2 separate regions of the Homo sapiens genome follow, and region 1 is linked to region 2. The links are contacts of gene promoters, found by promoter capture Hi-C in blood cells and fetal thymus (Javierre and others, 2016). All regions are on one chromosome and are shown on one strand. The core of a region is centred on a gene start or on the middle of the fragment in contact, and the rest is flanking DNA. Distances in the headings are between cores, read along the strand shown. Region 1 holds the start of LRRC37A3 (leucine rich repeat containing 37 member A3). Region 2 holds the start of STH (saitohin).

Region 1 (6,388 bases), core at 2,374-4,873, about 19 Mb before region 2:
GGAAATGATCAAAGCAAACTATATTACCCTAGGGACAAACCCATTGTGATTGGCATCCACGAACAAACTTGGTGTAAAGAAATCATATCTACGACCAAGAGGATTTCTTTCTCATTTGGAGATAAGAGTTTCACTTTGTCACCCTGCCTGGACTGCAGTGACATAAACACGGCTTGCTATAGCCTTGACCTGCCAGGCTCAAGTGATCCTCCTGACTTAACCCCTCAAGTAGCTACAGGTGCTCACCACCATGCCCAGCTACTTTTTTTTTTTGTAGAGATGGAGTCTTGCTGTGTTGCCCAGGTAACTTACCTCCTGAGCTCAAGTGATCCGCCTGCCTTTGCCTCCCAAAGTGCTGGGATGACAGTTATGAGCCACCTGTACCCAGCCATAAGAATATTTCTTAAAATCTGACTTAAAATTTTTTTAAAAATTCTTTTAGAGATAGGGTTTCACCATGTTGGCTAGGCTGGTCTCGAACTCCCGACCTCAGGTGGTCTGCCCACCTTGGCCTCCCAAAGTGCTTGGATTACAAGTGTGAGCCACTGTGCCCAGCCAAAATCTGACACATTTATAAATTTCTACAATAATTTTAAATACCAAAAATATTCCCAAAACGTTTCATCATGATTATTTTTCTTCCCAAATCTTATAGTCTCTCAGAAAAATAACTTAGCCCACGTTTCCTTTAAAGAGTTTTTAATTTTTTTAATGAAGGGCCGAATTAATTTTATTTTTCCTTCTTTAAAAAAATTCGTCCAGCACAGTGGCTCACACCTGTAATCCCAGCAGTTTGGGAGGCCGAGGGCGGAAGATCACTTGCGTCCAGGAGCTCAAGACCAGCCTGGACACATGGTGAAACCCCATCTCTACTAAAAAATACAAAAATGAGCCAGGTGTGGTGACGCATGCCTGTAGTGCCAACTACTTGGAAGGCTGAGGTTGGAGGCTCCCTTAAGCCTGAGAGGTGAAGACTTCAGTGAGCTGTGATGGCACCACTGTGCTCCAATGTAGATGACAAAGTGAGACCCTGTTAAAACAAAACAAAACAAAACTTTTTTTTGGAGATAGGGCCTCACTTGATCGCCCCGGCTAGAGTACAGTGGTGCTATCATGGCTCACTGCAGGGTCGACCTCCTGGGGTCAAGCAGTCCCCTGGCCTCAGCCTCGCCAAGTAGCTGAGACTACAGGTGTGCATCACAACACCCAGCAAATTCCTTTTTGTAGAAACAGGGTTTTGCCATGTTGCCCAGGCTGGTCTCAAAATCCTGGCCTCAAGTGATCCACCCACCTCAGCCTTTTAGAATGCTGGGATTACAGGCTGTGAGCCACAACTCTCTTGGCCTATAAATGATAATTTAAGTGAATCTCTGAAGCTACAGTTTTTTGTTTCGACATGGAGTCTCGCTCTGTCGTGCAGTGGCATGATCTCGGCTCACTGCAACCTCCGCCTTCTGGGTTCAAGTGATTCTCCTCCCTCAGCCTCCCAAGCAGCTGGGATTACAGGTGCCTGCCACCATGCCTGGCTAATTTTTGCATTTTTAGTACAGACGGGGTTTCGCCCTGTTAGCCAGGCTGGTCTCGATCTCCTGACCTCAAGTGATCCTTTCACCTCAGCCTCCCAAAGTGCTGGGATTATAGGCATGAGCCATTTCGCCCAGCCTCTGAAGCTATAGTTTTATAGATTCTAAAGCAGAGACTTCATATAGCTGTCTATGAAAAGCCAAAAACAAACAAAAAACCCACAGAAAAACCTGATTCCCCACGCCAAAATTTCAAGGATTTGCCTAAAGGTAAGGTCCATCTGTACCTGAAATAAAGTTTGCTGTGCCTCTTTTTTTGCAGGGTCACCCAGCCCTATGCACCAATTATACTAGTAACAATCATTACATGAGTACCTCAGGAAGCTTTTAAATATATCACAAATATTTTACCAAATAAACCTGAATGGCCCTGGTTTAATGAAACTGTTTCTCTGTCTATAGACTATCTAGTCTTATAAAGTCAAAAGAGAAGCAATGTGACAAATTATTCAACAGCCCTTCTCTATTTATAGAGAGAGACTGAACTTCTTCCTTGGTTAGAAAGAAAACCTTGAGTTTCATTTCCTAGTTCATATATTTTTATAACATCGTGGGACAGATTTTGGGAAAACCAAGATGGTATAGCGGGCGCACACTTTGATCCTCCCTCTCCCTTCAAGAACATACAAGTGAGAGTAAAATATAAAAAAGAGAAATTGAAAAGACATAGTCATGCTTAAATAAGTTACAACAATCTCAACGGAACAGACACAAAACTGTGAGCAGGACTAAAACTGCAGGCCTTCTAGACTCCAGATGCAGAAGGAGGAAGTGGTGGCTGAACACTAACAGTATGAGTTTCTCGGGGATAAGGGAGGCTAACATGCTGTGTGTGAGGCAGTGATAAGCGCTGGCTCCCTGCTGGAAGTTAAGGGTTGACTGGGCTACACTGGGCTTCAGGAGAGAAGAAAACAACACTCCTCTCACTCAAAATAAGCTTGCAAAATTCAAATGTTTGAAAATGAAAATGTGTAATATGAAAAAAAGATAACCAGGGCCCATACGGTGGCTCATGCCTATAATCCCAGCACTTTGGGAAGTCAAGGAAGGAAGATCACTTGCTTGAGCCCAGGAGTTTGAGACCAGCCTGGGCAACATGGCAAAACCTTGTCTCTACAAAAAAACAATGACAACAACAATAACAACAAAAAACACCCCAAAATTAGCCAGAGATGGTGGCAGGGCACGCGCCTGTAGTCCCAGCTACTTGGGAGCCTGAGGCGGAAGGACTTACTGATCTGGGTAGGGGGAGGCTGCGATGGGGTGTGATTGCACCACTGCACTGCAGCCTAGGAAAAAGAATAAGGCCCTGCTTCTCAAAAAGCAAAAAAAAAAAAAAGCCAATAAAATCAATGGTCTAATCTGAATTCACTCCAAATGAAATTATAGAGCAATTTGACAGGCCGGGCATGGTGGCTCACACCTGTAATCCCAGCACTTTGAGCGGCTGAGGAGGGAGGATCACTTGAGGTCAGGAGTTCAAGACCAGCTTGGCTAACATGGTGAAACCCCGTCTCTACTAAAAATACAAAAAAAGCTGGGCATGGTGGCAGGTGCCTGTAATGCCAGATACTCAGGAGGCTGAGGCAGGAGAATTGCTCCAACCCGGGAAGCGGAGATTGCAGTGAGCAGAGGCAGCCCTACGCCCTCCAGCCTGGGCAACAGAGCAAGACTCCATTTAAAAAAAAAAAATTAACCCTATTTAAAAAAAGAGGCAGAAATAAAAATAGGTAGATGTAAAGAAGGAATCACATATCTTATAAACTAAAAAGAAAATAAAATGTATTTTTAAAATATGCCAGTACTTATACATATTTGAAACTTTAGCAGAGACGGAGTTTCCTCATGTTGGTCAGGCTGGTCTTGAACTCAAAAGCAAATTACCTTAGCAATAATGTGTTTTTGTTTTTGAGACAGAGTCTCACTCTGTCGCCCAGGCTGGAATGTGGTGGCGCGATCTCGCCTCACTGCAACCTCTGCCTTTTAGGTTCAAGCGATTCTCTTGCCTGAGTCTCCGGAGTAGCCAGGACTACAGGTGTGCGCCACCACGCCCAGCTAATGTTTGTATTTTTGTAGAGATGGGGTTTCACTATGTCAGCCAGGCTGGTCTTGAACTCCTGGCGCCATGTGATTCACCTCCCTTGGCCTCCCAAAGTGCTGGGATTACAGACGTGAACCATTGCACCCGGCTCCTTCTTTCCCAAAGTATAATTTTTCTTCCTCATTAGATTGTTTTTGTATAAAATGTGTTTATATATGAACACATGCATTAAAACAATATATACAAGATATATTCTAAAGTTGTTTAAAAATGATTGTCTTTGGGGTTTAGATTTAGAGATCACTTTTATTTGTTGGCTTTGAAGTGCAACTGACCTATTTATTTACATATAAAGGATATAAACTACAAATATTTTCCCACTCTGTACAGAATGTGGAATGGAAACAGTGCATGGCACACCTTAAGTGTTAAATAAACATTTCCTGAGTGAATTGAATGGATACATCACACTATATATACACTAGTCTGTAATTTGGATTTTTTGTTCAAGCACTTGTCATTGGCAATTTCCTCCAAATAATTAAAAAATGAAAAACACCAATCCCACATTATTTTCTTAAAATGGAAGTACATTTTTTGGATATTCCAAAATGTATTCCAGTGGTTCTCAGCCGGAAGTGGTTCTGACACCTCCTAGTGGGAATGTATGGGGAGCGGGCAAGGTTACCTTTTTGGTTGTAAAAATGATGAGGCTGGTACTAGCCTTTGGTATCCGGGCCCAGAGATGCTAAACTTCTTCCTACAGTGTGTAAACTGGCTTGTCCAAAAGGCCAAAGCGCTTCTGTTGAGAAACACTGATGACCAATCTCCTCTATGTGGTCCTGTGAGACTGTGAAACACGTATTTGATCTTCCTGGTTCCTGGCATACAATTCCTAAAACCCTCAGAATCTGCAAAATAAGTCTTTTTTTTATGCTAATGATTGACTGATTAGGCTTTCCTAGACAGCCTCAGGATTGGGGCTGGTGGTCAGGGCTTTCAGTGCCACTCTCAACCTCTGAGAAAGAGAGAGAGGCTGAAGGTTAAGCTGACCACCAACGGCCAACGGTGTAATCATTAATGACTCTGTAATGAAGCTTCCATAAAAACCCAAATTGAGGCCGGGCACAGTGGCTCACGCTTGTAATCCCAGCACTTTGGAAGACTGAGGTGGGTGGATTACTTGAGGTCAGGAGTTGGAGGCCAGCCTGACCAACATGGTGAAACACCGTCTGCACTAAAAGTACAAAAAATTATCCAGGCATGGTGGCACACGCCTGTAATCTCAGCAACTCGGGAGGCTGAGTCATGAGAATCGCTTGAACCTAGGAGGCAGGCTCAATGTTTATCTTGTAACTGACTATGTTACTGAATTATAATTTTTTTTTTGAGACCTAGTCTCATTCTGTCACCCAGGCTGGAGTGCAGTGGCGTTATCTTAGTTCATTGCAACCTCTGCCTCCCAGGTTCAAGCGATTCTCGGGCCTCAGCATCCCGAGTAGCTGGGATTACAGGCATGCACCACCACGTCCGGCTAATTTGTTTGCAATTGTAGAAAAGACAGGGTTTCACCATGTTGCCCAGACTGGTTTGAACTCCTGGCCTCAAGTGATCTGCCCGCCTCGGCCTCCAAAGTACTGGGATTAGAGGTGTGAGCCACTCAGTCCAGACAACATTTATTTCTTTATTCATTTCACCAGTTGGCATGGTTTCCAGACTTTTCTTGATTTATTTTATTTTATTTTTTGAGAAGGAGTCTCACTCTTGCAGCCCAGGCTGGAGTACAATGGCGCAATCTTGGCTCACTGCAACCTCCACCTCAGGGGTTCAAGCGATTCTTCTGCCTCAGCCTCCTCAGTAGCTAGGATTACAGGCACCCGCCACCATGCCCAGGTAATTTTTGTATTTTTAGTAGAATTTAGGAGTTTCCTAAATTCTGGGGGCTTGTCTCCCTGTTCCCCCACCCCGACTAATTTCCCTCGGTCGCTGGCGCTGCCCCGTCCCTTAGGTCGCTCGGGCCGCCCCACTCCGAGACTTTTTTTTTCTTTCGCTGGCTCTTTCAGCTTCAGTTTCCCTAGGGGGCGGGAGGGGAATATTTGGGGGCTCTCCTGCCTTCCTCTCCGAGCCGCGGAAGGGGAGACGCAGGGAGGAGGTCCGGCCGGCTTTGGGCTCCAGCCAGGGGTCCGCGGAGACTATGGTCTCCGAAGGCCTTAGCCGCGGGGCATTTCGCGAGCTGCGCGTCTCTCTCAACGGCGCCACCGCGCCCGGAGTCCAGCCGCGCCGCGCTGCGCCCAGCCCCGGCGCCCCAGGCTCTCCGCCCCCGACTCAATGCTCCCGCGCTCCCCCTAGCGGCCGCCGCGCCACCTCGCCCCGTCCCAGGCTCGTAGGCTGCTCAGCTCACGTGACCGCGCTCCGGTAACGGAAGAAACAAGATGGCGGCTGAAGGCGATCCGCAGTGAGGCCCCAGCCATTCGGATTGAGCCTTCTCCCTCCAACCGCTTCCGCAGGCCGGGCCCCTCCTGCCCTGCCCCTCTGGCCTCCCCACCCGGCCCCGGCCGCCCCCACTGCGCCCATTGCGCCCGCCCCTTCCCGGCCGCTTTCCCTTCTCCCTCCGCCTCGGTTCCAACATGAGGGGCCGGCGGGGCAGGCCGACCAAGCAGCCCGCGGCTCCCTCTGCGGAGCGCTGCGCCCCGGCCCCGCCGCCGCCGCCGCCGCCCACGTCCGGACCCATCCGGGGTTCCGCTCGCGGCACCGCGGCAGCAGC
Region 2 (5,811 bases), core at 1-2,500:
GATCGGCGGGGCCTACGGGCTCTTCCTGCCTGGCACCCCACCCAGCTCCTCCTCCTTGCCTGCAATCTCTACCCCTACCCAGCTGGTGCTCCAGTGCGGCCACCTGATTATCTGCATTTTCCTTTCAAAATAATTCCATTTGGGGCCCCAAAGCAATCTATGTTCACTGTAGCAAATCCTGAAAACAGAGAAAAGCACAAAGAAGAAAACAGAGAAAAGCACAAAGGGGAAAACAGACGTTTTCCGTTTTTCCCCCAATGATTTGCAGCAATCTGCGGCAGTTTTCAGCCTCTGCAGGTTCCCAAACGTGACTTGGCTCCTGCTCTTTTCCCTTTGGTGTTAGCATCTGTTCCGGCACGGTTGAGGGATTCTTCAGACTCCGCCAGCTTTGCCTCTTTTGTAGCCAAACATTTATTGAGCACTTACTGCATACTGGGTACTACATGAGGCCACAGGGACCCAAAGGTCTCAGCAAAAGCTCGTGGAGCCTTCAGGCCAGTCCAGGAGGAGGAGGCCTGACACCCTTCAGCGGGTCATTTTAAAGGCTCTTGTGCATGGACCCTGTATGACATTTTTCTTTTTCTTTTTTCCTGGAGATTCATGTGTTGGTCTTTGTTATGGCTGAGGTTTAGTTTCAGACAATTTTTCTAGGCTTTCCTGGCATTTAAGGGAGGCTGTGACTGTGTCCTCTGCCACTTTTCCACACTTCGTCCCCCAAAATATCTCAAGAAAAGTCAAGTCACCCTTTCTCCTTTAACCCTTTAGTAGATTTGGACGTGCTGCCTCCACCCAGCATGGTGACGTCATAACCTGGGGCTCCCATCTGCCCCTTTCTACACTTGGCATGAGGTCGCCTGACTCTCACCCCTCATGGGCAGAGGCAGGGCAGCTGCAGGGTGGGAGGGACAGTTCTGGCCCTGAAAGGGGCCTTCAATGGAAAGTTGTCTTCCCTGCTCAGCCCCATTCCTGCTGCTCTCTTCAGAGCTGTAAGAACTGGGCCAAATGGTGCCCACACCTTCCAAGCCAACCTCAGATGAACTCAGGGTCAACAGGGAAGCTACTTCCCATGCTAAGCTGAGGGTTCTGTCTCTGGCAACCTGAATCATCCACTCACACAGAGGCTGAGTTAAATTAACCCCGCATTCAATGAGGGCCGGCCACCTGCACAGTCTTGTGGGGGCTGCAAAAATGCATGAGACTTGGCCTCCACCCTCACTCATGGCCCAGACTAGGGAGCAGCAGACACATGCTCAGTGTGGTCAGAGTTTACAGGGGCTTTAAGAAGAGAGAGGGGAATCCAGGAAGACTTCCTGGAGGAGATGGCAACTGAACTTGGATTTAAGGGAAGGGAAGAGATAAGGAGAGAAGGACATTCCCCACCATGGGACACAGGGCAGGGTATGGCAGAACCCAGGGGCCCCCAGAGGTGCATGGGCGGGGAACCCCAGACGGGGAGCAGCAGATTCAGGCTAGGGGGAAGGGAGCACCTTGTGGGTGCTGCTTGTTATGTGACTTGAGGAGATCCTGGATGGCAGTCTGGGTGCTGGAGCAGGATGGGGGTGCATGGGTGGGCAATGGGAGAAAAGGCAGGAAAGGCCAGTGAGGGCCCCTCTGGGGTCTTGGGCAGCACCAAGGCCAGGCACCCTGGAGAATGAAAGTCACGGTGGTCCCAAGATGGGGCTTCTGGAGGCGACTTTCGAGAACCGAATGAGGACTGGAAAGTCTGGAGACGAGGGAGCGCATTGTCCCCAGTGGAAGCGCAGGACAGTTTCCCTCAGCTGCGGTACAGGACAGAGGCCCTGGGTCACCTGTGAGTTATTTCCCCAAGGTCTCTAACCAGGCCACTGTGGTGGATGAGGGTCCAGAGAGCCTCTTCCACTACAAGCTCCACATGCCTGAGCAGGAAAAGGCCGGACCTTAATTTAACCCGGATCGTTTGCCATCAGGAGGGAGATTCTGAGATGTTCTCTTCCTTCCCTCCCTCCTGTGTTCCAGGGAGCTCTGCCCTTGTCCCCACAGCCACAGGGGAGCCACTGTCTGTCCTTTCCTCGATGAGAGGAGGTGCTCTGGGGCACAGCCGAGTCTTCTCCACCTCTGTGCACCGCCTGGCACGCAGGGACTCTCAAAAGAGGCCTGATGCACAGAGGCAGGGTCTACACATGCGTCCCTTTTAACCCGACCGTCCATTTCCATCCCGATGGGATGTGACACTGCACTCACAAGCTTGTTCGGGGGCAGGGGGGATCCTGGGTGGGGGGAGGTGGCAGGGTTTGAGGCAAGGTGCCCATGTGCACTGGTGGCCACCCTCCGTCCAAATGCCCCAGGCTCAGACCCAAGTGATAAGAACTTCAATGGTGTGGAGAGCGCCTGCGTGGGGGAGGCAAGCTGACACGCAGGCCCAGGGTTCCAGAAAGCCCCCTAGCTCCCCGAGGCCCAGTGCCCAGAAGGCCCAGCACATCTGCAGCCTCAGAGTGAGCTGTGGTCCTTCTCACCCCCAGCCTCCTCTTCACCCTTCCCCAGCTCCCCAGTGCTGGGTGGCGGGAGCGGGGTCCTGGGCTGAATTGTGGTCCCCGCAAATTCACATGTTGAAGCCCTAACCCCCCTCCCCAACACCCCCGTACCTTAGAATGTGACTCTATTTGGAGACAGGGCCTTTAGAGAGGTGACTAAGTGAAAAATGAGGTCATCAGGCTGGGCCCTAAGCCATGGTGGGTTTTTTTGGTTTGTTTTATTTTGTTTTGAGACAGAGTCTCGCTCTGTTGCTCAAACTGGAGTGCAGTGGCACTATCTCGGCTCACTGCAACCTCTGCCTCCTGGGTTCAAGCGATTCTCCTGCCTCAGCCTCCTGAGTAGCTGGGATTATAGGCGCGCACCACCACCACGCCCAGGTATTTTTGTATTTTTAGTAGAGACGAGGTTTCACCCTGTTGGTCAGGTTGGTCTCGAACTCCTGACCTCGTGATCTGCCTGCCTCAGCCTCCCAAAGTGCTGGGATTATAGGCGTGAGCCACTACGCCCAGCTGCCATGGTGTTCTTATAAGAAGATGAGCATGCGCAGAGCTACCAGGAGCACACACAGAGGGAAGACTGCAGCGGTGCAGGACAGAGGTGGCTACCCACGGCCACAGAGAGGCCTTGGAAGAAACCCACCCGCCCACACCTGGCTAGTGAGGAGGCATACTGCTGTTCTTTCACTGTGGTGCTTTGTATGTCAGCCCTAACGCACCCAGACGAGGGGCACAGGGACAGGAATGGGGAAAGGGATCCAGGCCAGGCCCCCGAAGTCTGTGCTTCTCCACCTTTAGGAAGCTGGAGAGCTCGCGAGCACCCACTTGCTCCCAGAAGAATCAGCTGATCAAAACAGAACCCCCAATCTCCCCAGAATCCAGAGGAACCCAACCTAAGCAGATGGCCCACGAGTGGAGATGCTGACCTATGGGTGGCAGTGTATTCTGCCCAGAAGGCAGGTGGGGAACCGCTGTGGGTGCCCTGACTATGAGAGCCTCCGGCCGTGGAGACACAGCCCTGCCATCTCTGTCCGATTAACAGGGGCTGAAGGGGCAAGAGAAGAGCCAGAACGTTCTCTCGCCTGAGGAGGGCACTCACAGTGTAGTGGAGAGCCCAATAAAGAACTGAACTTCCTTGAAGAGGGTCCAGAGGGGACTGGGGTGTTATGCGGGGGTGCTCAGGTGCGGGGAGCCCCACACCTCCATGCACAGTCCCACGACTCCACGCTCAACCGCGCACCTCCAGGCGCAGCCCTACCCTTCCAGGCACAGCCCTACCCCTCCAGGCGCAGCCCCCCACACCTCCACGCGCAGCCAGCCACTCTCACCTTCCCGCCTCCCGGCTGGTGCTTCAGGTTCTCAGTGGAGCCGATCTTGGACTTGACATTCTTCAGGTCTGGCATGGGCACGGGGGCTGTCTGCAGGCGGCTCTTGGCGGAAGACGGCGACTTGGGTGGAGTACGGACCACTGCCACCTTCTTGGGCTCCCGGGTGGGTGGGGTTGGAAGGGACGGGGTGCGGGAGCGGCTGCCGGGAGTGCCTGGGGAGCCGGGGCTGCTGTAGCCGCTGCGATCCCCTGATTTTGGAGGTTCACCTGGGAAGGAAGGAAGGGAGTGAAGCCAGGACTCGAGTGGGTGGGGTCAGAAAAGGCCCTGGGGGCTGCCTGTCCCGTGGGTCCATTCCCAGGCTCACCACTGGGTTAGGCAGGTGGAAGCCAGGTTGGAAGCGCAGCTACAGCAGACGGCTGCCCTGGGGAAGCATCTCTTCCTCCCTGCCTTTTTGCTTAGGGACAGAGACACCCCTTTCCCAGGAAAGCAATGGAAAACCATCAACCACCATCCAATACCCGCTCCCAGAGAGGTGGCCAACTCGGCTCCACAGTCTTTGGGTCAAGAGATGGGCTCCAACAAGCTGTGTGGCCTCAGACAAGTAACTTCCCCTCTCTGAGCTCAGAGGCCTTAATTTGAAAATGGAAATAATTATAATCCCTGCGGCCAGCGTGGCTCCAGGAGGTGGTAGATATGCTTTGCCAACCTCTAATACAATTCTTCAGGGCCTTTATCCTAAATAAGGGTGATGCAGTGACGAGACCCAGCTGTGCCCTCAAGCCTGGACGCTTCTGACCCTTTCCCCACAGGGTGAATGTTCAGCTGTTCAGCTGTTCGGCTAGTTCAGGGCTCCTGCCAGCACCCTGGCTCCTCTGTGGGATTTGGCCTTCAGAACAGGATGCCTGCTCCACGCCTGCCTGTCCCTAGCTGTCCACACGAGCCATACCGCTTCATGCTGCTGTGCCCTGACGTACAGTTCCCCACCTGCCATGCATAGCAGTTACTAGCGCACCCTTCCAACACCCTGGAAGCTGCTGGGGGGTCTCTTCTCCTCTCCATGCAGATGCTGTCCCTCCCTCCTCTGGGTGTCCTTTACCCTCAAACTTGCTTCTGTTACTGCACTTCCCAGGCCCCCGTTACACTTCAACAGTCTGGTATTCTATCTCATGGGTCTGTATTTTCCAAAGTGTGGCCCACGGAACCCTGCGTCAGAATCTCCGGAGCTTTCAAGGAGGAAAGTGGGAGTTGCAAAATGCAAATTTCTCGATCCCCTTCAAGAGTGGATAGAGCAGAATCTCTAGGGGTGGGACCTGCAAAGCCTCATTTTTCTCAAGCTCCACAAAGACTGAAGTCTGAGAACCGCAGGCCTCACCCTGTGCCGAGGTGTGCTTAGCTCCCCTGCAGTCTGAGAACTTAGCTTTCCTGCAAGTCCAGAAGCTTCCCGCAGCAATGCCCCTGCCGCTGCCCCAGGCATTTGCTGTAACACATACCTGCTGGCCAGACCTGGAGAAGGGCAGCTCTTTGAAGCACCCATGTAGCCAATGGGCAGCTTGGCCAGTGACGAATAAGCACTAGTTTTCTTTTGTTGTTGTTTTGTTTTTTTGTGGTTTTTTTTTTGAGACGGAGTCTTATTCTGATGCCCAGGCTGGAGTGCAATGGCGTGATCTCGGCTCACTGCAACCTCCGCTGCATGGGATCAAGCGAGTCTCCTGCCTCAGCCTCCCGAGTAGCTGATATTACAGGTGTGCAGCACCACGCCTGGCTAATTTTTGTATTTTTAGTAGAGACTTATTTTAGTAGAGACTGGATTTTTGTATTTTCAGTAAAGATTTCTTTAGTAGAGGTTTTACCATGTTGGCCAGGCTGGTCTTGAACTCCTGACCTCAGGTGATCCACCCGCCTCGGCCTCCCAAAGTGCTGGGATTATAGGCATGAGCCACCGCACCCAGCCAGCACCAGTTTTTAGAATTTGACTT

Evidence for each region. The method cuts DNA at HindIII sites, captures the fragments that hold promoters and counts their contacts. A CHiCAGO score of 5 or more calls a contact.
Region 1: a contact is called between a fragment that was not itself captured here and the fragment with the promoter of STH in region 2, in 17 of 17 cell types (total CD4 T cells, endothelial precursors, M2 macrophages and 14 more). The highest score is 121.2, in total CD4 T cells.

Annotation. Positions count from the first base shown.
Region 1 is chr17:64,919,122-64,925,509 of GRCh38, reverse strand. LRRC37A3 (leucine rich repeat containing 37 member A3) reads left to right here and starts at 6,032. Exons shown (of 15, transcript NM_199340.5): 1 at 6,032-6,079. RefSeq lists enhancers at 4,630-5,129, 5,130-5,631, 5,707-6,207 and silencers at 5,823-6,042, 6,143-6,232, 6,303-6,388. The HindIII fragment of the contact is 2,201 bases long and covers 2,523-4,723 here.
Region 2 is chr17:45,994,689-46,000,499 of GRCh38, reverse strand. STH (saitohin) reads right to left here and starts at 1,250. Exons shown (of 1, transcript NM_001007532.3): 1 at 806-1,250. The coding sequence starts at 1,220. The coding sequence ends at 834. MAPT (microtubule associated protein tau) reads right to left here. Exons shown (of 13, transcript NM_001377265.1): 9 at 3,836-4,101. The HindIII fragment of the contact is 3,833 bases long and covers 1-2,225 here.